Linked DNA regions of Homo sapiens: all the other regions are linked to region 2. Evidence: promoter capture Hi-C in human tissues and cell types (Jung and others, 2019). All regions are on one chromosome and are shown on one strand. Each heading gives the region's core, a stretch centred on a gene start or on the middle of the fragment in contact. The rest is flanking DNA. Distances are from core to core; before and after follow the strand shown.

What was found. The method cuts DNA at HindIII sites, captures the fragments that hold promoters and counts their contacts. A contact is called where the count stands out against the background at its distance.
Region 1: a fragment that was not itself captured here is called in contact with the fragment with the promoter of THPO in region 2 in 2 of the 25 tissues and cell types used here (mesendoderm cells and spleen).
Region 3: a contact is called between a fragment that was not itself captured here and the fragment with the promoter of THPO in region 2, in 6 of the 25 tissues and cell types used here (H1 embryonic stem cells, IMR-90 fibroblasts, aorta and 3 more).

The regions. Positions count from the first base shown.
Region 1 is chr3:184,442,736-184,446,408 of GRCh38, forward strand. No RefSeq gene overlaps it. Among named protein-coding and RNA genes, the nearest start is that of LINC01839, 31 kb to the right of the region's middle. The HindIII fragment of the contact is 3,261 bases long and covers 335-3,595 here.
Region 2 is chr3:184,376,652-184,380,469 of GRCh38, forward strand. THPO (thrombopoietin) reads right to left here and starts at 1,556. Exons shown (of 6, transcript NM_000460.4): 1 at 1,424-1,556. CHRD (chordin) reads left to right here and starts at 3,403. Exons shown (of 23, transcript NM_003741.4): 1 at 3,403-3,815. The coding sequence starts at 3,668. The HindIII fragment of the contact is 16,052 bases long and covers 1-3,818 here.
Region 3 is chr3:184,482,565-184,486,254 of GRCh38, forward strand. The region is part of intron 1 of LINC01839 (long intergenic non-protein coding RNA 1839); the gene reads left to right. Among named protein-coding and RNA genes, the nearest start is that of LINC01839, 8.5 kb to the left of the region's middle. The HindIII fragment of the contact is 8,326 bases long and covers 1-3,690 here.

The DNA.
Region 1 (3,673 bases), core at 715-3,214, 66 kb after region 2:
TGCCCAGGCTAGAGTGCAGTGACACGATCTTGGCTCACTGCAACTTCCACCTCCCACGTTCAAGCAATTCTCGTGCCTCAGCCTCCCAAGTAACTAGAACCACAGGCACCCACCACCACGCCCAGCTAATTTTTGTATTTTTGGTAGAGACGGTGCTTCATCATGTTGGCCAGGCTGGTCTCGAACTCCTGGCCTCAAGTGATCCATCCACCTTGGCCTCCCAAAGAGCTGGGATTACAGGCATGAGCCACTGCGCCCGTCCTTTAGTGTTATTGTTACTATATTTCTGAGTTTCCAGCTGTTTATCCAATAAACTTTCATTGCTTTCATGATCAGAAAAAAATGAATAAATATTATTTTTTTCCTCCATGAAAATAGCACAATGAAGCAAACTCTCAATTCTAACATTTGAGAATGAAGTTCTTTTCTATTGAAGTTAGCATTTATTTTTATTTATTTATTTTTTTTGAGATGCAGTCTCACTCTGTCACCCAGGCTGGAGTGCAGTGGCGCGATCTTGGCTCACTGCAACCTCCACCTCCTGGTTCAAGCCTTTGCTTCCTGGGTAGTTGTGATTACAGGCCTGTGCCACCACGCCCAGCTAATTTTTGTATTTTTAGTAGAGACGGAGTTTCACCATGTTGGCCAGGCTGGTCTCAAACTCCGGACGTCAGACGATCCACCCACCTCGGCCTCTCAAAGTGCTGGGATTAAAAGCGCGAGCCACCACGCCTGGTCTGAAGTTAGCATTATTTTAAGTCTCAAAAATACATGAGAAACCTGCTGGTGTGAGTCACATGTCTGTGTGGGCACATTCCTGCTGAGCTGGTTGAAAGCATAGATGTGTGGAAAAAAGATTCCTCTCTATGCACCACTCTTTGCCCACAGGGCCATCGATGGTCAACAGGATAGACCTGTGTAAATCTGCCTTTCCAGAAGACTGGCTGGGAAACCCATGTGCTGTCTCTCCCTCTTGCCCTGTCTGTTCACCTTTTGGTCTTTGGTCAGCAGGTGCAGGGATGTGTTTGCCAATAGGGTTCCTGAAAGCTTGTCTGATTTAGACCTCCAGAGCCACCTGGGGGACATGTCAGAAGGAGAGGGGCTGGGCCTGTCCCCAGATGGACCCCTGCTCTTCTGGGAGGACAAACTGGAACTGGTCTGGATCCAGCTGCGACGCTGCTAGAGGAGAACGAGGCATCTTTTGCCCTCCAACATCTGGAGCCTGCCTCTCCAGGATGGGTACACCAGGCCTCTGCCTGCTCCCCGTTCCTTTCCACATTCCCCTTCTCTTACCTGCTTGCTACCCAGCTTGAAGGGCCTGTTTTTCCTGCTCAGGAACATTACTTATTTAGGTGATATTCAGAGCTATCTTCAAATTACAGATCACCTTGTCTACCATCCTGGAAAACATCTCTCTCTTTTTTTTTTTTTTTTTTTTTTTTCTGAGACAGAGTCTCACTCTGTTGCCAGGCTGGAGTGCAGTGGCGAGATCTCAGCTCACTGCAACCTCTGCCTCCTGGGTTCAAGTGATTCTCCTGTCTCAGCCTCCCAAGTAGCTGGAACTATAGGTGCATGCCACCACGCCGAGCTAATTTTTTTTTTTTTTTTTTTTTGAGATGGAGTCTTGCTCTGTCACCCAGGCTGGAGTGCAGTGGCGCAATCTAGGCTCACTGCAACCTCCGCCTCCCAGGTTCACGCCATTCTCCTGCCTCAGCCTTCCTAGTAGCTGGGACCACAGGTGCCCACCACCACGCCCGGCTAATTTTTTGTATTTTTAGTAGAGATGGGGTTTCACTATGTTAGCCAGGATGGTCTTGATCTCCTGACCTCATGATCCACCCGCCTCAGCCTCCCAAAGTGCTGGGATTACAGGCATGAGCCACCGCGCCCAACCAATTTTTGTATTTTTAGTGGAGACGGGGTTTCACCATGTTGGCCAGGCTGGTCTTGATCTCTTGATCTTGTGATCCGCCCCCCTCGGCCTCCTAAAGTGCTGGGATTACAGGCATGAGCCACCGCGCCCAGCTGGAAAACCTCTCTACGCATTATGAAGCTTTCTGATCTCTGATAACAGCACTTCGTTCATTTATTTATTTTTGTTTGTTTGATAACAGCATTTCTGACCACAGACTCTTTCATGGAATTGTAGCAGCTTCACTAGTGGGAATTTTACTTTGTGATACTTTCCCTACATCGATGGCCAGCATCTCCTCCCTTCTCTTTCCTTCTCCAGACTTCTAAACGTTGTGCTTTTCCATCTCACACAAGCAGGTTCAAGCCAGTGGAAGAGGTGGCCTGCCTCCCAATTGCACCAAGGGATGCATATTTCTACGTAGTTTGCTGTAGCTCTATTTCATTTTATACATCAGCTACCATCATCGTTTATGGACACTTTTCTCTCCTCATTCTGGGAGAAGCCCAGAGGCTTTCTGAAAATATCCATGAACTCTGGGGTGGATGTTCTCAGGAGCCGTCTGATGAGTTCCTGCATCTTCAGCACTGCTGAGGTCATTTACCTCCCACATTTCATGGTGATTCTTTCCCTTTGCTCCCACCAACCCAGATACGAGCCTTTTCTATGTGTTCTTCCAGAATCGCTCATGCAACACGGCTGGTTTAGAAGCAGACTTTATTTTTTTAATTTTTTGAGATAAGGTCTTCCTCTGTTGCCCAGGCTGAAATGCAGTGAAGATTTTATTGATAAGGTTGGATTTTTTTGGTCACCCAAGGCAAGCCATTTTAGCGTTAGACAGTCCTGCTTTTGAGAGTGCTCTGCAGCCCTGCTGCTGGCGACTCCTTGCTGGTGCCCTGTCTGCTCAGGCTCAGGCCTCTGCTAAGGGCCTTGGCTCCTCCCCTTGCCTAGAATCTGCTGCTGGACTGTAGAAAAGCCATATGCCACCCTCTCCCAATTTTCCCTCAGGGGTGAAGTGACAAAGTTAGTTTTGTTTGTTTTTAATTTTTAATTTTAATTTAATTTTATTATTTTATTTTATTTTTTTGATACGGAGTCTCACTCTGTCACCAGGCTGTAGTGCAGTGGCACAATCTCAGCTCACTGCAACCTCCTCCCCTCGGGTTCAAGCAATTCTCCTGCCTCAGCCTCCCGAGTAGCTGGGACTACAGGTGCCCGCCACCACGCCCGGCTAATTTTTTTTTTTTTTTTTTTGTATTTTTAGTAGAGATGGGGTTTCACCATGTTGGCCAGGATGGTCTCGATCTCTTGACCTCGTGATCCGCCCACCTTGGCCTCCCAAAGTGCTGGGATTACAGGCGTGAGTCACCGTGCCAGGCCATTGTTTTACTTTATTTTATTTTATTTTATTTTATTTATTTTATTTTGAGACGGAGTCTCATCTGTCACCCAGGCTGGAGTGCAATGGCACAATCTCGGCTCACTGCAACCTCCGCCTCCTGAGTTTAAGCAATTCTCCTGCCTCAGCCTCCCGAGTAGCTGGGATTACTGGCGTCCGCCAGCACACCCGGCTAATTTTTGTATTTTTAGTAGCGACAAGGTTTTGCCATGTTAGCCAGGCTGATCTTGAACTCCTGACCTCAAGTGATCCATCTGCCTTGGCCTCCCAAAGTGCTGGGATTACAGGCGTGAGCCACCGTGCCCAGCCTTGTTTTGTTTTTAAGAGACAGTCTTTCTCTGCCACCCAAGCTACAGTGCAGT
Region 2 (3,818 bases), core at 306-2,805:
CTCACTAACATGGTGAAACCCCGGCTCTACGAAATACAAAAAAACTAGCAGGGTGTGGTGGTTCATGCCTGTAATCCAAGCTACTTGGGAGGCTGAGACAGGAGAATCGCTTGTACCTGGGAGGCGGAGGTTGTGGTGAGCCGAGATCGCACCATTGCACTCCAGCCTGGGCAATAAGAGTGAAACTCCGTCTCAAAAAAAAAAAAGAAAGAAAGAAAGAAAGAAAGAAAGCAAGAAAGCATATGGTGTCTCCTTTTTGTCAGGACTCCTCAGTGAATCGGACATGGATTTGGTGCCACCTACCCCTGCTGAGAGCAGCAGGACATGATATGTATACACACATATCTTAATTAGCCTTAAATTCTGAGCAACCTTGGTTGTTAGGTCAGAGAAAATCTGGGATGGGGATAGAGAAGGAAAGTATTGTGGCTTCAGCCTGGAGAAGAGAGTGGAAAATGGGATGCAGGGCCTGGGTGAGGAACTGGCAAACGGGCGCAATATGTTGAGGGGTAACTTCTGCGGTGGGGAGTGGGGCTGGGGAGGGGAACTGCACAAAGCTGTAACTGGGACCACTAGAGGTCAGGATTAAAAGGCGGTATGGGAGAAATTAACCTCTATTCTTTCCCTATCTACCCCCACACATAAAGCCACTGGAGCTTTTCTCTGGACTCCAAGTCCTGAAATACTCCATTATCTGAGGCCAAGAGATGGGCTAACAGTTCTGGGACTTCCTTCCTGAGACCAGCTGCCCAGGAACGGGCACCTGCTGGGTGATGCCCACCTTAGGGGCTTACCTTGTCTTAGGCGCCCACTAACATATCTGTCTCATAGCTCACACCTGCCTCCCTGCCCCCTTGGCAGAACCCCTTCCGGTTCCTTCACAGGACCCCCCACATGGCTTCCTCCTCCTTTCACAAGTTGTGCAAAGAGGCTTGCACCTGATTCAATATTGGGATTTCCTGTAGGTCTGTCAACATGAGTGGGCCCTCCTCCCATTACCCTCTCCTTGCGCCCTGGCTTGCCTGGCCCAGCTTCCCCAGCACCAGATTCAGAACCTTAAGCTAACGAGGAATGACCAGCTAAGAATGGGGATTGGGGCTGTGTCCATCTTACTACTGTGTTTGCTAAGCCCTAAGTGCAGCTCCCTCTCTTATTTTCTCCCTGGGCTCATGTCCCCTTTCCTTAGGGCCAGCCAGGGCTGTGCTGTATTCCACCAAGTAAGTGATCAGTCCCTCAGAAACCAGCACCCCACCCCCTACCCCTGCTCTGCCCTGCTCCTCCCATTCTGGGAAGGCTACACTCTTCTCGACAAAGGTCAGTGCCTGTAGGTTCCAGTTTGCCTGCCCCTCCCCCAGCTGGGAGCCCATTTCTCTTTGCTGTCCTTTCTACCCTCACATAACCCCACACCCTGCTGGCCACTCACCGGGTGGAGAAGGGCTCCAGGACCCAAGTGCACAGCAGGCAGCCCTCTGGGGAGCAGATGGGTAGGAAGACATGTGGCGGTGGGGCACAGCCCCTCCACAGCAGCAGGTCATACGCCTGCCTGGGCCACTTCTGCCCAATCAGAGAAGGGAGCCACCAGACACTGGTGAAGGCCCCCGGAAGTGACGCCTTCTCTTCCCTGGAGCCCCTGCCTGGACCAGGGTCCACTCCTCCACCCACACACACCACGGAGAAGATTTGGATAGGGGGATCCATCTTTTCCTGGACATGGGCAACCTGGGACCTGGAGGGGGACAGGAGCAGAAGTTTTTTTCCAGGAGGAATCTGGCAGGACATTTGTGTTGCTGGGGAAGAAGCACAGAGGTCTTGTTTAAGATTGGTGGGGTTTTCACTCCCTGGCTATCCAAATTTCTTTTCCCTGGACATCATACCTGCTGCTGAAATCCAACAGGATGCTTGCTTTCCTGCTTTTCTTTCTGTAATCCCCTAGGGAGTCCTATCTTGTCATTCCCCCTTTCGAAGTGGGAACACGGATATTGCCCACATGAGAGAAATCTCCTGTTATGGGTTGGTGTTATGGGGAAAGGGTTTGGACGGGTTGAGTGGACTGTCAGGTGCGGGGCACATGTATGTGCGCACACGTGCACTGGGTTAAGCCTGAGCTTAGGTGCTCGTCTGCTGGGGTCCAGTGGCTTAGATGGCTACACACACAGACCTCTGTGCCCAGGGCCCTCCTTTGCTTGTTCTGTCTCCGTCTTCCATCTCCTACCGTTCCACATGTGACAAGAGGAATAACCAGGCCCATGTGTCCCTGTCTTAGGAAAGACAGCTGCTGGACCTCCCCCGCAAATACCTCCCTGCTGGCCCCCCTTTTCCTTTGGCCCTGGCTCTAGCTCCTTTGCTTTCTTCCCAGTCCCAGTCTCCCCACAGTCTCTGTCCTCAGGGGCTTCCTGGCCTGACCTTGATCCCATCATCCCCCTGTCCCCCAGAACTTCCTCAGGCTCTCTCCTGTTCCTCCTCCCCAAGGATGGGCATGTCTGCTGAGAAGTGTGGCCTAGATCCTGGAATTTTCCCGTCCAGCCAGACGAGATGTCTCCCAAGATTAGGAAGGAGGGTGCTGGGATAGCTGGGAGGATAGTGGGTGTGTGTGGGAGGGAGAGACAGGAGACAGGGAGGCAGGCATGACCAGGGAACCAAGAGAAAGGAGGCTGGGAGTGGGCTGGAGAGGCAGAGGGTCCCTTGGGTGAAGGAAGGGGGTGAGAAAGCAAGAGGGGACTGTCGAATGCGCCTGAGGATAAGTTACAATGAGAGGGAGATACTGTCACTCCACAGAAGGGGGAATGCTGCCGGTTTCTGGCTAGGTCCCTGTCCTGGGTAACACAAGAATGAGGAGCGACCTCAGAGAGAAGGTAGGGAGGCAGGCTAGGCAGTGAGAGAGGGTGGTGAGGGTTTGGGGGGCGCTGTGGGCCCAGGCAGGGGGAGATCGGCTGATGGACCTTTCCTGTACGTTGTCATCTTTAAAGACAAGTCTTCATCCTTCGGGCGGAACCGGGTCCTCGCTCACAGAGCGGTCCAGGCCTCAGGCCTAGCCTCTGCCCCTCCCTAGCCTGAGGCTCCCTTCCTGGGCTGGACACCGACCTCCTGGTCCAGCCGCCCTGTGGCCGCCAGCAGCGGGGGGCTCCGGGCCCGCCTCTCCTCCCCCTCTTCGCGCCCCCTGGTCCCTCCCCTCCCCCTCCCCCGCTCCCCCTTCCCCTCCCGCCCCTCCCTCCTCCCCTGCCCGGTCCCAGCCCCTCCCTCCCCTCCCCCACCCGCGATCCGGGCCGCTGCTGCTGGGTCGGACCCCCCGGGCTCAGCCCGGCCCCTCGCCGAGCTGCCGCCGCCGCCCCGTTTGCTGAGGAGGAGGCCCCCGGCCGGGGCGTCGGGCGCGGGGCATAAAACGGGCCGGAGCCGGCGCCCGGGGCAGTAGAGCCGCGTACGGCCCGGGTCAGCGCCCGCCCGCCCGCGCTCCTCCCGGCCGCTCCTCCCGCCCCGCCCGGCCCGGCGCCGACTCTGCGGCCGCCCGACGAGCCCCTCGCGGCACTGCCCCGGCCCCGGCCCCGGCCCCGGCCCCCTCCCGCCGCACCGCCCCCGGCCCGGCCCTCCGCCCTCCGCACTCCCGCCTCCCTCCCTCCGCCCGCTCCCGCGCCCTCCTCCCTCCCTCCTCCCCAGCTGTCCCGTTCGCGTCATGCCGAGCCTCCCGGCCCCGCCGGCCCCGCTGCTGCTCCTCGGGCTGCTGCTGCTCGGCTCCCGGCCGGCCCGCGGCGCCGGCCCAGAGCCCCCCGTGCTGCCCATCCGTTCTGAGAAGGAGCCGCTGCCCGTTCGGGGAGCGGCAGGTA
Region 3 (3,690 bases), core at 325-2,824, 110 kb after region 2:
GGCCCACACGGAGCCACTAATAGCAGGATGGGGGCAGAAGCTTTGGAGACATAAAGACCAGGACTGGATTTTCAACTCCCCCTTTCCCTAGGCATGAAACACTGGAAAATTCACTCAGTCATCTGACACCGGGTACCTCACATAAAAATTAAGATAACAACATCTTACAGAGTGGGCGCTAAAATTAGAGATAATGTTTGCATGAATCACGGTGCTCTAAAAGCTGGCCATCGTCATCATTTTGGTCCGCGCACACACACACACGCACGCACATACACACGCACACATTAAAAAATAGACAGAGAGATAAAGTGAGTGCCTCCGTGGGTCTCCCCGAGGCATGAAGGTGCTGGATTGAATGTGCGTGGAGAATCTCAGGCAATGCTCTTACAGGTAATGGTACTGGGGGCCACGGGCCTTTCAAGGGCCTTAAGATAATGTTTCACACCTCAAATTAAATGATTGACTCAAAATACAAAATAAAAACTCTACAATTAAAATTGATGAAGGCGAAGTCATCTCCAATGCGACAAACTCATAAATGATACTTTATCCTTAGATGTAAACTCTACAAGAGTTATATAGGCTGTAGTATGTTGGTGTCAGAGTTCTAAGCTTTATATTTTGGCTCCACCACTGTGTGGTTCTGGGCAAGTCACTGAACCTCTCTGTGCCTTTTTCCTTATCTGTAAAATGGGAATAATAATAGTGCGTACTTCAAATAGTTATTGTAAAGTACTTAAAATGGTGTCTGGCACATAACAAGCCTGGCTATTATTATATTTATTAGGATGAAGGTGCATTTTAATATGCTTGATATAATTGGGGTAGGGCTTCCAGAAGTAAAAGGGTCTGAGCCTCATAAAGGCCTTAAAACAACTCTGATCACTTCTATGTGACTGTATTTTTATGTAAATCAGGTATAACTCAGATTGTAAACTACAGAGTGTGATTGCATCTTTATAAAAATTAATGGTTCTCTGCAGGATGGTACTGCTCCCAGAGGTATTTTGGAGATTTGCATGGCTTTTTCTTTTGTCATCATGAACAGGGGTTACTGCTGGCATTTAGTTGGGTCAGACTAGTACAACAAAGATTTCTCGTGTGTCCCTCAGGACTTTTATTTATATTTTATTTATTTATTTATTTTGAGACGGAATCTCGCTCTGTCACCCAGGCTGGAGTGCAATGGCGCGATCTCAGCTCACTGCAAACTCCGCCTCCCGGGTTCAAGTGATTCTCTCACCTCAGCCTTCTGAGTAGCTGAGATTACAGGTAGGCGCCACGATGCCCTGCTAATTTTCATATTTTTAGTAGAGACGGGGTTTCGCCCTGTTGGTCAGTCTGGCCTCAAACTCCAGACCTCAAGAGATCTGCCCGCCTCTGCTTTCCAAAGTGCTGGGATTATAGGTGTGAGCCACCGCTCCTGGTTCCTCAGGACTTTTAATACAACAAACCTGACCGGACATGGTGGCTCACGCTGGTAATTTCAGCACTTTGAGAGGCTGAGGTGGGTAGATCACTGGAGGTCAGGAGTTTGAGACCAGCCTAGGCAAAACCCCGTCTCTACTAAACATACAAAAATTAGTTGAGAATGGTGGTGTGTGCCTATAGCCCTAGCTACTCGGGAGGCTGAGGCAGGAGAATCGCTTGAACCTGGGGGGTGGAGGTTGCAGTGACTGAGATCTTGCCACTGCACTCTAGCCTGGGTGACAGAGCAAGACTCTGTCTCAAAAAATAATAAATAAATAAATAAATAAATAAATACAACAAACCTATTTATGACAATCCAATTTAAAATCTAACTGAACCTAGAATTATATAGGTGAAAAACCTGCTTCTAATTATTTGAGCCTAGAACGAATTCCATTTTATAAGTGAATACAAAGTGGGTTTTTTTTGTCAAGGTTTAGTAAGTACTAAATTTCCTAGGAAGCATCAAATGCATACATCAAGGAAATACGGCGCAGTGCTTTATTTGAAAATTTGTCAAGAGTTCACCATTTTGAAAAGTCACGGATGGCGATCCTGCTTATATTATTGGCATCATCTAATTAGTGTCCATTGTAACTGTCCTCTTCATGGCTACTACCTCTACACAGGAATATACTGATTTAGCCTCTATGGCAAAATGTCAAATATGGAGGAAAAGGGTGAGTATTATTCAGCTGAATGTTAAAAACTTGGTTTTTATATCTTCCCACATGTGGAGAGTTGTCAATATGCCTACTCTACACTTCTTTTAAAATAAACAGTGACCACAAGAAGACAGAAAATAAAGATTGTATAAAGAAATACATTTATAAAGTTGGCAGCATATCATACTTCTGAGATTTAAAGAAGTTTGAAACTAGAATAGCCACGGAATGTTAAAGAAAAATCTCTGAGTAGAAGGTAAAGTTGTTGCTAATTCTTTCAGCATAATATAAATGATTGCAGAATATGGTAAGCAGTATAATATTATAGAAAAAACTCAAATTACCAGTGGTTTATAGGTTATTAGAATGATAGGAAAAAATCCAACTGAAATTTTTTTCTTCACTGAATTCTGATGATACTGTTGTAAGAAAAATCAATGAGATGGTGAAACTGGTGAATATCAGCTGTGTAATGAGACCAGTGGAGCACATTTTCGTTACTAGTGGATAAGATCTCCCAGTGGAACGAGGAAGCTCTCCTGTTCACATGGATAAGGTTAAGAAATGAAAAAAGCCACAGTGAAAATTTATTTTCAAAATTACTGGCAATGTATACAAAGGCACTGACAGCATCCAAAACCCTTGGAATGTATTTCACAGAAAAAAGTAATTCCCTTTCCCATTGTCATTATATTGTACGTGCCACAGATTGAGCCTCAACTAGAATTTCTTGGCAACATGGGTTTGTAGGCCATTAAAAAAATTAGCACCAGATGTTTAGCACGTTGAGAAGACAAACATTTTGTGAAAATTGTATGTTATTTTATTTATTTTGAATTCCTTGTTGTTTTTCAAGATTTTCAGTGTTGCAATGATCTGCCTTTGAAGGCTTAACCTCTCTGAGACCTCTTGTAGTCTCTTATTTTACAGTTTCTTCTTCCAACTTAGCCTTTATTCTCCACCACCTGATGAAATAAAATAACCCTAGACCACAATGAAATAAACAGGGTCCAAAACTTCATCACGTAAAATGTACAGTTGCATTCTTTCAATGTTGATTTAAAAAAATGTCTTTCAGGAGGCTTGTACTATCAAAAAAAGGCACAAAGGTAAAAATATTGAAGCATATTATATACAATTATCCATATATCCAACTGAGCAAGTCCCAATTACGTTATTTTATTTCATTTTTATTCATTACTTTTCAACTTTTATTTTCGATTCAGTGGGTACATGTGCAGGTCTGTTACCAGGGTATATTGTACAATGCTGAGGTCTGGGGTAACAATGATCCCGACACGCAGCTACTGAGCATAGTACCCAACAGTTTTTCAACCTTGCCCCACTCTCTCCCTCCCCACTCAGTGGTCCCCAGTGTCTATTATTACCATCTTTATCTCCATGATTACCCAATGTTTAACTCTCACTTATAAGTGAGAACATATGGTACTTGTTTTTCTGTTCCTGCATTCATTTGCTTAGGATAATGACCTCCAGCTGCATCAATGTTGCTGCAAAGAACATGATTTTGTTCTTTTTTATGGCTGCATAG